2 separate regions of the Homo sapiens genome follow, and region 2 is linked to region 1. Evidence: promoter capture Hi-C in 16 types of primary human blood cells and fetal thymus (Javierre and others, 2016). All regions are on one chromosome and are shown on one strand. Each heading gives the region's core, a stretch centred on a gene start or on the middle of the fragment in contact. The rest is flanking DNA. Distances are from core to core; before and after follow the strand shown. Region 1 holds the start of LCT (lactase). Region 2 has its middle 130 kb from the start of HNMT.

Region 1 (5,304 bases), core at 1,414-3,913:
TTGATGTCTGAGCTTTCCAGTGCAATGTGAATTTGAGCAGCCAGAAATCTATTAGTAGAAAGCAAGACAGATTAATATAGGTTAAAACAATGATTTAAATATGTTTCTCCCAATAATTATCTCTTTCCCTGGAATCAACTTGTATGAAACCTTGTCAAAATGTACTCCACAAGTATGTACAATTAAGTATTTTAAAAATAAATGGCAAACATTAAAAACAAGAGTGAATACTCAAGTAGATTTGTCATGGGATTTTTATAAGAAGACTGGTATCAGGTAATGTATCTTTAAAGACTAGGCTGCTCTGCTGACGTAGTAACCATTTTTTATTCCTTTACTTTCCTAATAGCCTTGCTTTCACTTAAGAAAAAAAAAGGCTAGGCACGGTGGCTCACGCCTGTAATCCCAGCACTTTGGGAGGCCAAGGTGAGTAGATCACCTGAGGTCAGGAGTTCGAGACAAGCCTGGCCAACGTGGAGAAAACCTGTCTCTACTAAAAGTACAAAAATTAGCCAGGCATGGTGGTGGGCACCTGTAATCCCAGCTACTCAGGAGGTTGAGGCAGGAGAATTGCTTGAACCCAAGAGGTGGAAGTTGCAGTGAGCTGAGATCATGCCACTGCCCTCCAGCTTGGGCGGCAACAACAACAACAAAAAAAGATTCCCAGGCTTCACCCTCTACAGTCTATGGAAAGTCATGGGAGTCTATTAAAAAAAAACAGACACTATAAACCAAATTAAAAGATGGGAAAATTTTTCTATCACGTTTTAATATGTGATATCCAAACTCCCATTAAGAATTTTTATATCAGTAATAAGATAAAACTCAGAAGAAAAATGCCCAATTAACAAGAAGAGCTTCACCTCTTAAATAATCAGAAAAAGAAAAGCACATAATATTTACGTCAAAGTATCAAAAATGTAAAAGTTTTATAATAGGCATTAGCAAGGCAGACGGATACAGGCACACATCTAACTCTATGTAGGATTTAACTTGGAAGACAATTTGCATTTCAATCAATCAAAAACCATTTTTTTTTTTGAGATGATCTCCCTGTGTTGCCCAGACTGGCCTCAAGCTCCTGGGCTTGAGCAGTCCTACAGTCTGAGCCTCCAAAAGTACTGGCAAAACAGGCGTGATTGACCATGCCCAGCCTGTATATAAGGATATTCATTTGCAGCATTGTTTGCAACACAAAAATGTAAAACCAACCGGTGTTTAATATGCAAGATGTTAATTTATGGTACATTCTTGCTGTGGAAAGCTATGCATCTGTTAGAGGTGGGTCTATATGTTCTGATACAGGCAGAACTCTAAGAGCTATTAAGTGAAGAAAAGGCTGAAAATACATATGGCATAATTCCATATATGTTAAATTGTTCTATATTTTAAATGTTATACACGTTTCCATTTGTATTTACGTAATAATAATGATCCCTGAGCTGTACTGTTGTATACATGCTACAAGAAAGACCCATTTAATCCCCACAGCCTATGATGAATTATCCACATTCTACAGGTGACAAAATAGAGGCACAAAGTTAAGTAATTTTTGTCAGGTGAGATTTAAACCCAGGCATTCTGACTCCTGTATAACCATTAAGATATGCAGAGAAAGAAAACTGGAAAGATACATATTGCTGAAGATACTTATTATAGGAAGAGGAGGGGGGAGGGTGAAGGAATTTGCAAGTTTTTCATAGATGTTTCCATATTGTTTGAATCTCTTACAAAATATGTTCAGCATATTTTTAAAGAGAAAATTTGGGGCAAAATACTTATTTTTGTATTATGTAAACAAATTTTAAAATAATGTGTGGCTGGGTGCGCTGGCTCACACCTGTAATCCCAACACTTTAGGAGGCTGAGGCAAGAGGATTGCTTGAGCCCAGGAGTTCAAGACCAGCCTGGGTGACATGGCAAAACTCCATCTCTACTAAAAATACAAAAAATTAGCCAGTCGTGGTGGCGCACACCTATGGTCCCACCTACCCAGGATGCTGAGATGGGAGGATCACTTGAGCCCAGGAAGTCAAGGCTGCAGGAAGCTGTGATCGCACCACTGCACTCCCACCTGGGCAACAGAGTGAGACCCGGTCACCAAAAAACAAAAAAAACAAAAAAAATTGGTAATCGTTTTCTTCAGACATTTTCCGGGTTCCTCTGCTTAACTTGTATAGGAAGTCTGAGGTTTTTGTGTTGGTCTTTACCTTTTTTTTTTTTTTTTTTTTTTAAGATGGAGTCTCATTCTGTTGCCCAGGCTGGAGTGCAGTGGCATGATCTTGGCTCCTGCAACCTCCGCCTCCTGGGTTCAAGTGATTCTCCTGCCTCAGCCTCCTGAGTAGCCGGGACTACAGGCGCATGCCACGATGCCTGGCTAATTTTTTGTATTTTTAGTAGAGATGGGGTTTCACCATGTTAGCTAGGACGGTCTCGATCTCCTGACCTCGTGATCCGCCCACCTCGGCCTCCCAAAGTGCTGGAATTACAGGTGTGAGCCACCACGCCCGGCCCTGATCTTTACATTTTTAAATATTGCATTAGTGAACCGTGTACTGATTTTGTGATCATAGATAACCCAGTTAAATATTAAGTCTTAATTATCACTTAGTATTTTACAACCTCAGTTGCAGTTATAAAGTAAGGGTTCCACATACCTCCTAACAGTTCCTAGAAAATGGAGCTGTCTTGGCATGTAGTCTTTATTGCCCTGCTAAGTTTTTCATGCTGGGGGTCAGACTGGGAGTCTGATAGAAATTTCATTTCCACCGCTGGTCCTCTAACCAATGACTTGCTGCACAACCTGAGTGGTCTCCTGGGAGACCAGAGTTCTAACTTTGTAGCAGGGGACAAAGACATGTATGTTTGTCACCAGCCACTGCCCACTTTCCTGCCAGAATACTTCAGCAGTCTCCATGCCAGTCAGATCACCCATTATAAGGTATTTCTGTCATGGGCACAGCTCCTCCCAGCAGGAAGCACCCAGAATCCAGACGAGAAAACAGTGCAGTGCTACCGGCGACTCCTCAAGGCCCTCAAGACTGCACGGCTTCAGCCCATGGTCATCCTGCACCACCAGACCCTCCCTGCCAGCACCCTCCGGAGAACCGAAGCCTTTGCTGACCTCTTCGCCGACTATGCCACATTCGCCTTCCACTCCTTCGGGGACCTAGTTGGGATCTGGTTCACCTTCAGTGACTTGGAGGAAGTGATCAAGGAGCTTCCCCACCAGGAATCAAGAGCGTCACAACTCCAGACCCTCAGTGATGCCCACAGAAAAGCCTATGAGATTTACCACGAAAGCTATGCTTTTCAGGGTGAGTACACATTGACCTGATGGTGACCCCTCGGCAACCTTCATCACACACCTTCCCCATCCTCCTTAGAGCAGATTCGACATTTCTCCCAACTCACCTTCAGCAGTCCTCTTATGTCTGTGCATAGGGAGAAATTAATATTGTAAATTGATTTCCCACTGGCGATAGGAAGGGGTAGCTAACATGGCAAAACACTCAGCATTTCCTTTGAAAAATATCTTTGAGGCTCACGCCTGTAATCCTAGCACTTTGGGAGGCCGAGGTGGGCGGATCACTTGAAGTCAGGAGTTCGAGACCAGCCTGGCCAATATGGCAAAACCCCGTCTCTACTAAAAATACCAAAATTAGCCAGGGATGGTAGCAGGCGCCTGTGATCCCAGCTACTCGGGAGGCTTAGGCAGGAGAATTGCTTGAACCCAGGAGGCAGATGTTGCAGTGAGCCGAAATCATGCCACTGTACTACAGCCTGTGCGACAGAGCAAGACACAATCTCAAAAAAAAAAAATATGTATACATATATATATATATATATATATATATATATATATATATACACACATGTATTTTTGAAATACCCCTTGCCCAGTCTTGAGTTGTGCAAGCACTGATTGTCTTTCTGTCTTCCTTTCCGTCTATGTCCTGCTACCCTGACTTGGAGGCAAAGTTTCGTGGTTTCCTGTCCTTCCCCCTCGGCTCCCCTATACTTACATGTCTTAGTTGGAGCTTACATTGCAGCTTGGGAGACAGACAAATACAAGATGAAACAATTATATATCACAGGATGAGGAGAGCACAACTGTAACTGTTCACATTCCTGCCTCCTAGGGGACTTGAAGTTCTGATCTGTAGGCCTAGGCTGAACCAGGACATTTGTGATTATAATCAATTCCCTAAGTGTATGTTAGGTACACCAATTTTGAGAATCAATTTTGGATTATATATGCTTTCTTGTTTTTATTATATACCATATACATACATATTTGTATATATAGTACCTGATATATATATATATATATATATATATATATATATATATATATATATATACTTCTATGTTCTACTTTTTCATTTTAACATAGTTTATGACTATATTCTCATTTTATTAAAAACTTGAGCCAGGCATGGTGGCTCATGCCTATAATCCCAGCACGTTAGGAGGCCAAGGCAGGGGGATTGCTTGAGGCCAGGAGTTGGAGACCAGCCTGGGCAACATAGAGAGCCACTATCTCTAAAATAATATAATAATTTACTCCAGTGCTGGAATAGTATTGCTTAAAACAAAAGAAAAACTTGAAAGCATAACTTTCAATGGTCTTTTAGGTTCCCATTGTATAAATGGAGCATAAAGTTTAAGGTATTTTCCTTATTTTTGTATGTTTATTCTAATTTTCACTAGTTACAAGTTATGTTGCAATGACATTCCTATCTATAAACTATTTCCCACCTTCTGATAAATTCTTTCTGACAGAATCTTAGAATTGAAACTACTAGGTGAAAAGATCTGCATTCTTTAAGATTTTAAAGCATGGTACTAAATTATTTTCCAGAAAAGTTGTAATCATTTATACGAACAGTTATAAAATTACTCTCTGACCCCATTCTGTCAGTTTCAAATGCTATATTTTATTACTAATTTGACAGCTGAAAACAGCTTATTTTCATGTCTTGTTAATTTGCATGTATTTGATTATAGAGACGTTAAACATTTTTTTCTTCTTCTTTTTTTTTTTTTTTTTTTTTTTGAGATGGAGTCTCACTCTTTTGTCCAGGCTGGAGTGCAGTGGTGTGATCTCGGCTCACTGCAACCTCTGCCTCCCGAGTTCAAGCAATTCTCCTGCCTCAGCCTTCCCAGTAGCTGGGATTACAGGCACGCACCACCACATCTGGCTAATTTTTGTATTTTTAGTAGAGATGGGGTTTCACCGTGTTGGCCAGGCTGGACTCAAACTTCTGATCTCAGGTGATCCGCCCGCCTCGGACTCCCAAA
Region 2 (5,304 bases), core at 1,424-3,923, 2.0 Mb before region 1:
AAGAATAGAAAGAATTAAGGAAAGATTATCTTCCTCCTTTTGTAATTTTTATTATTTTACTTTTTGTTTCAATCGCTTTTGGGGAACAGGTGGTTTTTGATTACATGGATAAATTCTTTAGTGGTGATTTAGTGGTGATCATGGGGTGCACCTGTCACCGAGCAGTGTACACCCCCTCCCACCCTCCCCCACAAGACCCCATAGTCCATTATATCATTCTTATGCCTTTGCATCCTCATAGCTTAGCTCCACTTATAAGTGAGAACATACAATTTCTATTCCTGAGGTACTTCACTTAGAATAACAGCCTCCAACCCCATCTAAGTTGCTGCAAATGTTGTTTCATTCCTTTTTATGGCTATGTCTTTCTCTTCAACATTCTCTACAAATGCACTTGCACCTAAAGGTATATGATTGGGCAAATTCTGTACCTATCATAGGCTGTAACTTGGTCTCTAATTTCACACATGAAATCTTTTTTCATTCACTTGGAGTTAATTCAGTGAGGATAGACACTGTCCTTCCCTTGTTCCCCAAGCATCAGCAAAGTGTTTAGTTAATCTCCCATTAAATATTGAATAGAAAAACCTTCATTTTCAGAAACTCTTCTTTATGAGGTCCTAATATATGCCATGTGCTCTGCTAAGTGCTCTTTGGAGACTCTTTTATTTAAGCCTTGCAACAATACTAGGAGGAAGGTATTTCACCCATTTTAATAATGAAGAAACTGAGCTTAGTAATATACTCAAGTTCTTAGATCTAGGAATAAATCTGGGATTTAAATTAAAATCTGTCTAAATCTATGTTCCTATCTACTGTTAAGTGTGGCTTCCAAAAAAGTGTGGGCAGAATCTAAGGGTGGGTGTGTCCTCATGCTTACAAGACTCTCTGCAGTCTGTGAAGATGGAGAGGCAGCGAGAAGGGAAAGAATGATCTCTGGGTGGAACTTGCCTCTCCCATCGCCACCATGGCCCAGCAAGAAACACTTCAGTCCAGATTTCCCTTCTCTTGAGTATTGAGTATGCAGAATAATGCCCCACCCACACCACGAAAGATGTCCAAGCCTCAATCCCTGGGACCTGTGAATATCTTATGTTCCATGGCAAAGGGGAATTAAGGTCACAGATGGAATTAGGGTTGTTAATCAGCTACCCTTAAAATAGGCAGATGGGACTTTATCCTGGATTACTGTAAGTGGTCTCAATATAACCAGCAAGGGTTTTTCAGTGGAGAAGAGAAAGACAAAAGAGAGCAAACCAGAAAGATAGCAATGTGAGTAGGACTGGAGCCATGTTGCTGGTTTTGAAGATAGAAGAAGGGGCCCTAAGCCAAAGAATGCAGACAACCTCCAGAGGCCGGAAGAGGTGAGGGAACAGACGCTCCCCTAGAGCCTCCAGAAGACACCAGCATGCCGACACCTTGGTTTTCGGCCCGTGAAACCTATTTTAAATTTCTGACCTCCAGAACAGTAAGATAATAAAAGTGCGTTGTTTTAAGCCACTAAATTTGTGGTAATTTGTTACAACAGCCACATTAGATGATTAATACTAGCACTGGTTGGTGTCTTGCAGCTTCAGAATGTATATTTTATAATGGGGCGGTGAGACCTCCTTCCGCTCAACTTGTACACAGAGGCACTCAGCACACATCCCTCAATGGGTGATCTCATTCCAGCACGTGCGCTGGGCAATCAGTACCAGAGGCAGTTCTGCCATGGCTTAGTGCATACGTCATCTTTGGTGGGACAAAAATTGTGTATGCAGATCTAAAAACATGATCAAAAGCAAGTCTATCCTAACATTTCTGTCAATTTACCAGGGGTATCCAATCTTTTGGCTTCCCTGGGTTACATTGGAAGAATTGTCTTGGGCCACACATAAAATATACTAACACTAACGATAGCTAATGAGCTTAAAAAATTGCAAAAATACTTACAATGTTTTAAGAAACTTTATGAATTTGGCCACATTGAGAGCTGTCCTAAGCCGCATATGGCCTGTGGGCCACAGGTTGGACAAGCTTTATTTAGATCATGCCGAAGGAGCACAGTTCCATGAGGAGGGAGGATGGGGAGCATGTGGTGTGTTTGCATACAATTTTAATTTCTGGATGTTTCAAGTCATATTCTGAGCACTGAAGGTAGGCCTAACTCACTTATCTGCTACACAAAATATGACCAAGTGGGGTACACATATGTAGGAGAGGTGTACAGGAGAAGCGGTGCGTGCATATATGGAAGCAAAGGAATGAAGTTGATGTAGATTTTTATAGAATCACAATGTTTAGAAGCAATATTTAAATATCAATTAATTACCAATACCCCCCCCAAAAAAAGAATGAAGACACCAGAAAAGGTATTATTTGTAATTAACTATGTAGCCACTAGATGGCAGTACAGTGTAAGCAAAAGGAAAATCTATTCCCTCAGCCCAAGCTTCTCTGGCTGCTGTTAAAGGATGTTTTACCGCTGTTTCAGGAGAAAAGGAGGAAATTCAGTCATGTTAAGGCAGTCAACTTAGAGGGCCAGGACTGTTCTAGATGGACTCCCGGGCTAGAAAGAGCATGGACTCTATGTGTCTCAGCTCCTCTAATTCCTATCTATGAGATCCTGGCAAGTTGCTTAACATCACAAGGCCTCAGTGTTCACATTTATATAATGGGTGTGAATGTTATTTTTCTTACAAGGGAAAGAAAAATGAAGTAAAACGGAGTAATATTATTAAAATACTTAAGATTTAATAAGCAGTCGATTATTAATAGCTCTGTGTCTCCTTTGGGTAGGGAAAAATAATACAATTTAGATTTTAGGTCCTAAACTAATCTCCAGGTATGGTTGTGAGGAAATTATGGGTCTTGAAAAGTAAAGAGAGAAGATTTATTCTTTACTCTGCTTCAATGTGGCTAAAGCTTCCCTGCAAAGTGTCACAATAACCTTCTCTTCATGTTCTCAAATGCAGTTGCTCCCCTCCCCATCTCTCCTTGACACGTGAAGTTCCTCTCCTATGAGGAGCATTGCCAAGTTTCGAGAGGTCTGCAATGTTGGACTAACAGTCATGGCCTTCGCACAGGCAGGAGGTCACAGCAGGGACTCCAGTGCTCACCACTTCCCTCTTCCTACATCTGCCTTTAGTTTATGAATGCATGAGAATTTCATAGTGAGTTAATGGAAGCCCTCCCAAAATATGTCCACATAGAACCCGTGAATGTGACCTAATTTAGAAAAGAAAACAAAAGGTATTTGAAGACGTAATGAAGTTAAGAATCCTGAGATGAGCTCATCCTGTATTATCCAGGTGAGTTCTAAATCCAATGGCCAGTGTCCTTAGAAAGGCACAGGGAGATGTGTGACAGAGAGGATTCGGCCATATGAAGACAGGGGCAGAGATTGCAGTGGCGTGATCACAAACCCAGGAACACCCGAGCCGCCAGAAGCCTGAAGAGGCAGGGAAGGATTCCCCTCTAGAGCTTCTGGGAGGTGCGTGGTTCTGCCAACACCCTAATTTCAGAATCCTGTATGCCACAACTCTAAGTAAATATTATAAATTCTTATCATGCTAAGCTACCAAATTTGTGGCCTTTTGAAATGGTAACTCTAGGAAACTAGTACAGGTTTATATCAAGAAAATTCCTGTCCCCATGTATTTTTCCAGTGTGCTAGAAATTCCATGATTAGCAAATTTATTCCTTTGGTTTAAATTGCAGATTCTTTTAAAATAAAATACATGAGATCCTGGGAAAGGTGTCCTATTTTAGAGAATGAATGTTCACACCACAGCCTCTGTGAATGGATGGCTCATATCTACAGAAAAGCACTGGATACTAGGAAGGAAACAATTCTAAAGGGTTGTAGGGTTGTAGGGCACTGGCTCTAGCAGACCAGCTTGCCTTGCTGCAAGACAACTTGTCTGGCGTTTGACCCAGAGGTTCCTCATTACTTCAATGGTCTTCAATGAAAGAAGCCAAAGTTTGGAGAAACCCCAAAGAGTATTGCCTTTAGACCCATCTAAGACCCCACACTGGACTAATTTCTGGAGGCCCCTTGCCATCGAGGATGTGCCCATGGGGCCAGTGGAACATGTCCCCAGAATTAGCATCTTCCCCTCCCAGCCAGTGATACAGGTGGTGCCCAGATCCCAGAATTATTCACCCACATGGCCTCCCAGCCCTTCCCCAAGTCCCCTACAGGCTTTTTCTCTAGACCTGCCCTCTCTGGGGTGGCTAGCATTATACTGTGCACACTCCTAGGCTGGGGGTGGTGAATGTGTGAGGCCCTTCGCAGGAGAGAATGGAGCCGACAGGTGGCTTGCTGGGCTCCAGGACCCTTCTCTTCTGGCACCTCCAGGTTCTGGCTGAGGAATTTGATCATTCTGAACTGAAATGTAGCCTCTCTGGTCTTTTTTGTATATTTGTCAAGGTAGGAGGATTAAACATATTTAATTAAATGATTAGTTAACTTGGCTTATAAATTAAAATATTTAGACAAGTGGAATGTGGGCCTTACATTTGCATCCTTTCCTTGGGACCAGCCAAACATGAGGTGGCCCTGCCTCTGAGATAGGCAACGCTGTAGGAGCACTCTGCAAGTTGGAGTAGTGTGTGAACGGCAGTCCATAAAAGGCAGGACATAAAAGCAGAATCTCAGTGCTGGAGGTGCCCACAAGGAAAAAAAAAAAAAAAACCCACAAAAGGAATTGGTAGTAAAACCCAAGCATCACACCAACACCAAGCACGGAAATGACTACATCACAGACAGCAGACACCAGGTCCCCCATCTCCTGGCTATTCGACTTTAGAAAAGAAGCTTAAAGTCTTGAACTGAAATTCTTAAAATATAAAATCAGGATGATTAAATATATGTCAAAGAGTTATTATGGGAATTCAGAAAGCAGTAAATCAAAGTCATTACTTTAAAACAAGGACACATACTTCAGATACTAAATGCAGCGTAAATTGTAACTATCCTTGTTACAGCTATTGACAATGTATCACATGGAATTGCTGGGACTGGGGAGAGTGAGTCTTGGGATGAGAAGCAACATTGAGATGGACACCTCCCTCAAAAGCATCAGATGTCTCAGTAAGAGAGGCAAGCTCTGATCTCCCAAATTGAGTTTTGTATGGACATATACCTACTTATGGGTGGAAATATAATAATGAAGCACAACTAGTTGGGAACAGCTGTTTTAAACATTCTAAGAAAAGATTGCTTGTCTGGTCTGCCCACTTAAGGGCTCCAGAGTTGTAAATGTGAGTCTTACATGTGATTTTTAGTTTGGGTTGGCTCAGACCAGACATCTCTCTAAC

The links. Contacts are between HindIII fragments. The CHiCAGO score rates a contact against its expected background, and 5 or more counts as called.
Region 2: a contact is called between a fragment that was not itself captured here and the fragment with the promoter of LCT in region 1, in 1 of 17 cell types (naive CD8 T cells). The highest score is 7.9, in naive CD8 T cells.

What each region holds. Positions count from the first base shown.
Region 1 is chr2:135,834,543-135,839,846 of GRCh38, reverse strand. It overlaps LCT (lactase), which reads left to right and starts at 2,663. Exons shown (of 17, transcript NM_002299.4): 1 at 2,663-3,317. The coding sequence starts at 2,678. It overlaps MCM6 (minichromosome maintenance complex component 6), which reads left to right. Exons shown (of 17, transcript NM_005915.6): 17 at 1-221. The HindIII fragment of the contact is 13,164 bases long and covers 1-5,304 here.
Region 2 is chr2:137,835,759-137,841,062 of GRCh38, reverse strand. No RefSeq gene overlaps it. Among named protein-coding and RNA genes, the nearest start is that of HNMT, 130 kb to the left of the region's middle. The HindIII fragment of the contact is 473 bases long and covers 2,437-2,909 here.